Regions from separate parts of the Homo sapiens genome. Here region 2 is linked to region 1. The links are contacts of gene promoters, found by promoter capture Hi-C in blood cells and fetal thymus (Javierre and others, 2016). All regions are on one chromosome and are shown on one strand. Each heading gives the region's core, a stretch centred on a gene start or on the middle of the fragment in contact. The rest is flanking DNA. Distances are from core to core; before and after follow the strand shown. Region 1 holds the start of DSCC1 (DNA replication and sister chromatid cohesion 1). Region 2 has its middle 11 kb from the start of COL14A1.

Region 1 (3,194 bases), core at 206-2,705:
ATCTTAAGAATGTAGGTCTTATGTGCTTTTTTATCGATAAGGAAGTTGTACTCAGAGAAATTAGGTAAATTGCCTTAGGTCACAAAGTTCTGAAGAGAGTTGGGATTCGCAGCCATGCCTGTCTGATGTAAATGTCAGGGTTCTAGTTGACACTGCTTCTAGTTGTAGGGAATGTTTCCCATTTAATAGAGCAACTACAATGGTTGATTCCCTTCAATAATAACTTCTTATCAGGCAACCACTGTCACATTCAGGATTTCATTCCACCGAATTCCTATGCATTCAAATGTAAAAGAGGCTAGTGAAGAAGTAGGTCACATGAACCAATCTTTCCACCACCAACGAAAGCACTGCCCAGACTCCTGGGATGCCCTACTCTGGTATTTTCGTATCATTTTACCCAAGAATTGAAAAAAATGTCTGCTCAGATCCTTTGAATTCAACACCTTACCCACCACTTTCTTTCACTTCAAGCAAGGTCTGATTTGCACTAACTAGTAGGAGGTCACCATCTCTTAAGTGATTCCTCCCAGACTATTTTAGCTCTCAGGGACAGCCAGGGCCCTCAACGATTCCCTAAGCATCTCTGGGAAAGTTTACACATTACGCTGTTACAAGCAATTCATGTATGTGTGCATAGTGAAAACCTTTTCTCTTAAAACTCTTAATACTGAAGTTCCCCAAACCTTTGGAAAATGTACAAGTCACAGATGCTCCTGTGACTTGTTTTTCCCTTCGGGTGCGTCCTCAACCTTGCTTAAATAAACCTCTATTGAACGAGACCTGCATCAGTCACTTTTCGGTTAACACTAGGTATTCAACGAATAGACTAGTCCCGCCGTTGTCTCCAGATATGATGGTGCCCTGACCCAAAGAAGCGAGATACTCCTTCCCAGGGCCTCGCTCCCGAGCATGGGTTATTTGCACAAAACCCCGCAGGAAGCTTTTAGAGCCACAGTCGGCTAGGCTGGAGTCAGACTCTGTTACCTCCTGACTCTGCCATCACGAGCAAGGAGCCTGCTTCCTCATTGGCAAAAGGGAATGACCAAGGCACCACCTTACAGGGTTGTGGCAACGGGCTCATGGAATTATACATGCCAAGTGGTTATCACAGGGCCCGCCACTGGCGGAAGGTGAGACAATGTGGACGGCGAGGAAATGGGAGCATCGGCTGGAAACCAGGGACGGAGATCGGGGATGGGGGGCGGGCAAGGGGACAGCGGAAAGGGTGGGCGAGGGATCCGTGTCCCAACCCGCCGAGTCGCAGCTCTGCCCCTGCGAGCTTCCGCCGAGACCGCCCCCCGGGAAGCCGCGTTTCCTTCCTGCAGTCGCGGTCCGGCGTGGGGCACGGAGGGGCTCGCGCTCCCAGAAGCCGGCAGGCCTTCCCGCGGGCGGGCCCGCAGCGCGCTCCGCCCCGGAAACACGCCCATGGCCGCCTTGGCGCGCTTTCAAACGCTCAGGTTTCCTACCTTCCGGCTGCTTGGGAACTTCTTTCTTGCCCGCCAAGCCCGCAGCCACCCGGGCGCGGCGGGACTCCTAGACCCGGCGCTGCGATGAAGAGGACCCGCGACGAGGTGGATGCGACGCTGCAGATCGCCAAGCTGAATGCGGCCGAGCTGCTGCCGGCGGTGCACTGCCTGGGCTTCGGCCCTGGGGCCAGCGGCGCTGCAGCCGGCGACTTCTGCCTGCTGGAGCTGGAGCCCACGCTGTGCCAGCAGCTGGAGGATGGACACAGGTGAGCCCTGGTCACGCGGCGCCCCCAGCCTCTGGCCGGCCACGTTATTTTCTCAGCGGGGAAAGTCGGGATAAGAAAACAGGGCCAGAGAGATGCACTGACCTGGCCGGGGGCTCATAGCAAGCTGCCTGTTCCCGAGGAGTCCACGCCTCCGGTGGGCCGTCCAGTTAGCTGCACTGCGGTGATGAGTAGCACTGGTCCAGCTGACCTTGGAGGCATGTGTCAGCGGGAGCAAGTCAGGAAATACTAATACAACCTCCGTGAAGTTTTTGAAGAGTTACCGGTGATTACAGGGACTCTACAGGACACCTGTCACTCTACCTTAAAATACAGTGGTGATACCCAATGTTTATAGAACTCTTGCCTTCCACTTATATTTATTTTACTCAGATGATAGATAGGAAGTGCTGGGAATCAGCTTACAGACTTGGTAATTGGGTGAGACCCCTACCCACCCCGAAGCAAACTTGCTTAGTAGGGATCTGAAGCTGTTTCTAATTCCAGGTCAGATACAAACTTGCTGCAAGATCATTGATTAGAAGTCGAAGTTGAGGTAGTTTTTTAAAGGCAGTCTTGAGAAGTCTAGAGAATCGTTATATCCCTCCACCCTGTGCAGCCCCAGCTCCTGCAAAATAGGGAGCTCCAGCTTGATTCTCTTTTGCACAATTGGTCCTCCGACACCTATATTTTATTAGGCTATTTTTTCTCTTTTTTCTTAATGGAATCCTTTAGGCTGTCTTTCAGTTTTCGTACTTTGCCCACCAAAGAGTGTTAGAGTAAACTGGCCATTCTTCAGATACCTGCTATATACCTCAAAGTACCTTTAAGGGAACTGAAAGAACTTCACTAGTCTGTTTCCATCCCGGTTCAGTTGGTGGAGAGTTGAGAAAGGAACTCAGGTGTGAGGACTTTCTCTCGGTCCAGTTCTAGTTAATCTAGCTGGCAAAAACAAAACAAAACAAAAACAAAAAAATAAAAACAGGCCCTGGAAACGTGTGTTTTTAATTTTGGGGTGTAGGGAGTGATGGTATAAACAAAATATTTCAAAGTGGGGGTAGTGCAGTTAGAGAAATAAATGTTAAAGACTAGGTACTTGGGCCTATTAAGCATTATTAGCATTAGGAATCTAAAAAACCTTTTATTCTTTTTACTTAAATGAAGACTTAGTCAAAAATAAATACACAGTCTGCTATTTCAGGTTTCTTATTATTTATTCAAAAGAAACGAGTTGTGCACAGGAGAATTAAATGCTTTACAGACAAGGAAAACTGCTAGAACCAACTCCCCTGTCATTGCCATCATCTTTGTCTTTAATCCTTCCTTTTCCTCCGCTTCACCTTCATCCTTTCCTCTTCCTTCTTTTTTCTTTATCTTTTTTTTGGGGAGAGAGTGGTGGGAACAGGGTCTCACTCTGTCAGCCAGGCTGGAGTGCAGTGGCACAATCACGGCTCTCTGCATG
Region 2 (3,194 bases), core at 419-2,918, 260 kb before region 1:
AGGAGAGGGACTAGAAATTTGCCCTCTTAAACATCTTCCACCCAATCCTTCTTATTTTAGCACCAACTCTTTTTATCCCATGGCTCTGGGCTGAATATTTCTGTCCTCCCAAAATTCATAGGTTGAAGCCCAAACCCCCAATAAGATGGTATTTGGAAGTAGTGCCTGTGGGAAGTAATGAGGCCATGAGGGTCATGAGGTCATGAGGGTCGAGCGCCCCTGATGAGACTCATGCCCTTACCAGAAGAGTAGACCAGCTAAGAAGCATCTCTAGGGGGTCTATAAAGTGGTACTATTACACTCTTTATTTGCAGAAGAGGGAACTAGGGTGGAGAGAGGAGATTACCAAGATTACTATGGAGTCTGTAAATGGAAGTGAGAATTCAAATGTCACCAAAGCTAATATCCTTAACACTATGCTGATCTATTTTCCCATTCACATTCTTTTAATCAACTTAATTTCATGTTGCCTATTTTTTCTCTTTTAAGGAAAATTACTTGACTATTCTGAAGAAGCCACAATAATAACACACACCCCCAAAAAACAGTAAAAACTGATGACAAGGATGAAGCATTGTTACCTGTTACCTGTTGCCTATTGGTCAAGCCAATATGTTGCTAAAGGAAAAGAAAGAAGTGGTGATTGCATTGTACATCGAGCCTAAAGCTACGTCTCAGATTATTTCCTGCTATTCAGGCTGTTGCTTCCATATACAGCATAGTCCATAGATTCACCAAGGCTAGCCTCAGGCCTCTGGTGAGACTTCCTCCAAGAACCTACACCCCAGAAAAAAATTTTGGATAACATATAACCACCAAGATATATCCACTGAGACTACAAAGAAATTTAAAATATTAATAGGAGCAAAACTTTAAACCAAAGGAAAGACATCCTAAGGCAGCATTTCAAGAATCAGCCTTGGGAAGATTGAAGAGGGCCAGAAAGTCCTCTCTGAGGACATTTTAGATTTTCCAGAGAAATGAGAAGCACACAGAGCTAGAAATAAAGAGAAAACCACAGAGATCTCTTCTTTTAGAGAATTGAGAGAGCAGAGAGACAGAGAACGCATGAGATAGAAAATCTCATATGGGTCTAGGTTTTGGAAAATTCTGTTCATTATGCTGTGGTGAAGTGTTCTGCGAAATTTGTTATTTGTTTTGTTTTCAGCTGTTATTCATGTAAGTTGTGGTTCAAGTTAGTATCTCTTCTGATCTGTGCCCTTTGACGTGTTAATTAATTGATGAAACTTTTGTTCTCAAACTTTTTACTATTTCAATCCAAAACCTTCAGATTTGTCTGAAAATTCACCATGGGCCACTAGACTGAGAATTTCTCTACCCTGTAATAGCCTCAGTACAGAAGCTTAGAGGAAACCAAGCTGAGCACTGAAATCAGTTGGCAGTGCCCTGCTCCCTCTGTGACTGTATTCACTTAAAGTTGTCCAGATTATGTTCTCAGGATCAATGACCATTTTATCTGTGTCCCTAGCACCTGGCTTAGCATATATTATCAATCCAAAACATGTTCTCTGAATGAATGAACAAAAGCAAGAATGAATGAGCAAACCACCATATTCCAGCAGAGCACCATGATGGTTTCGAGCTTGTGTTCGTCTCCAGGCTTTGCCCTCATGAGTTGGGTGACATTAACTAAGTTATTCAAGATATGCCTTCTCATTAACTTATGCCACAGATATTACTGCTGGGCTCTGAGTATGCATGGGGTGAGCAAAACAAGTCCGTTGGCCTTGTGGAGTCTAGAGTCCAGCTACACAAACACACACTGACAAAACATGAAGTGCTCTGATGGTAGCGGGCTGAGGGGCAAGAGTGCAGGTATTATGCAACTTATTCAGGTAGAATGATCAAGAAGTACATAGGTGAGGAGGTGACCTTTAGGCTGACAAAAAGAGAGACAGCCAGCCTTGAGAAGATATGAAACAAAAGCATTCTGAAAAGAAAGAAAAGCTTTTATTAAGTCCTTGGGTTTTCAACCAAACAATTGAAAAAAAGAACAAGAAAACAAAGTCATCGGGCAAGAGAGAGCTTGCATAGGCCCAAATTATTTTGAATGAGCAGAGTTTGGTGAAATCAGAGGAGAGACTTAAGACCAGGTGGAGTGGCTCAGAGCCTTTGTAATCCCAAGACTTTGGGAGGATCACTTGAGCCCAGGAGTTGGGAACCAGCCTGGGAATAAGACCTTATCTCTACAAAATAATAATAATAATAATAATAATAATAATAATTAAAAATTAGCCAGGCATGATGACACGTGCCTATAGTCCTAGGTACTCTGGAGGCTGAGATGGGAGGATCGCTTGAGCCTGGGAGGCACAGGTTGCAGTGAGCCCAGATCACGCCACCACAGTCCAGCCTGGGTGACAGAGCAAGACCCTGTCTCTAAATAAATAAATAAATAAATAAATAAATAAATAAATAAAGATGGGTGATGTGAGACACAAGAGGTGAACAAGGATCAGACCTTGGACAACCTTGTATGCCAAGGTAAGTATTTTGACTATATCTTGGCAATGGAAAGTTTTAAGTAAATGAGGGAAATGAGCAACCCAGAGTGTCTTATTTAGCTGACCAGGAGCAGGGGCAGACATGGGTATTTTATCAGAATCTTCTCAGTGATTCTAGCACACAGCCAAGGTTGAGATCAACAGTCTGTATATTCCTGCAGGAGCAAACCCACTTTACTTACATCCTTCACCTGCTCTGATCCTCCCAGTGGTGGCTCCTTTAAACAGAATAAGGTGTAAATATATTAGCTTAGTAATCAAGTTCCTCCGTGTCTGCCTTAGCCTAACTTTCCTATCTTATGTCCACTCAACCTCCTGGACAAACTTTATAATGTAGATTAAGGATGTGAGTTCTGAAGTCAGAGCCAGACATGTTACTTTATCCACATTGTAGCATGGTAGTTATAGTTACCTCTTATCGTGTTTAGGAGATTTAATTTTATAATATCTGGAAGGCTCTTCACCTATTACTTAGTAAGCACTTCCTAAAAGTTTGCTCTTGTATTATTCCCTGACACCCAAATAGAATTTTCCTAATTCTGCCCTTTTTCTGATGTTAAACCATATGAACACTTTTCTATTCCCATCTACCTAAACAGAACCCACCCCTCCTTCAAGTTCCTGCTCAATACTATCCCAGGGAGAACTTATCTTTGGCTCCCTTGATCC

What was found. The method cuts DNA at HindIII sites, captures the fragments that hold promoters and counts their contacts. A CHiCAGO score of 5 or more calls a contact.
Region 2: a fragment that was not itself captured here is called in contact with the fragment with the promoter of DSCC1 in region 1 in 1 of 17 cell types (monocytes); the score reaches 5.0 in monocytes.

Annotation. Positions count from the first base shown.
Region 1 is chr8:119,854,155-119,857,348 of GRCh38, reverse strand. It overlaps DSCC1 (DNA replication and sister chromatid cohesion 1), which reads left to right and starts at 1,455. Exons shown (of 9, transcript NM_024094.3): 1 at 1,455-1,735. The coding sequence starts at 1,554. It overlaps LOC105375728 (a long non-coding RNA gene), which reads right to left. Exons shown (of 4, transcript XR_928590.3): 2 at 2,547-2,674; 3 at 1,470-1,943. RefSeq lists a silencer at 1,304-1,363 and an enhancer at 1,474-1,783. The HindIII fragment of the contact is 2,867 bases long and covers 946-3,194 here.
Region 2 is chr8:120,112,308-120,115,501 of GRCh38, reverse strand. No RefSeq gene overlaps it. Among named protein-coding and RNA genes, the nearest start is that of COL14A1, 11 kb to the left of the region's middle. The HindIII fragment of the contact is 605 bases long and covers 1,366-1,970 here.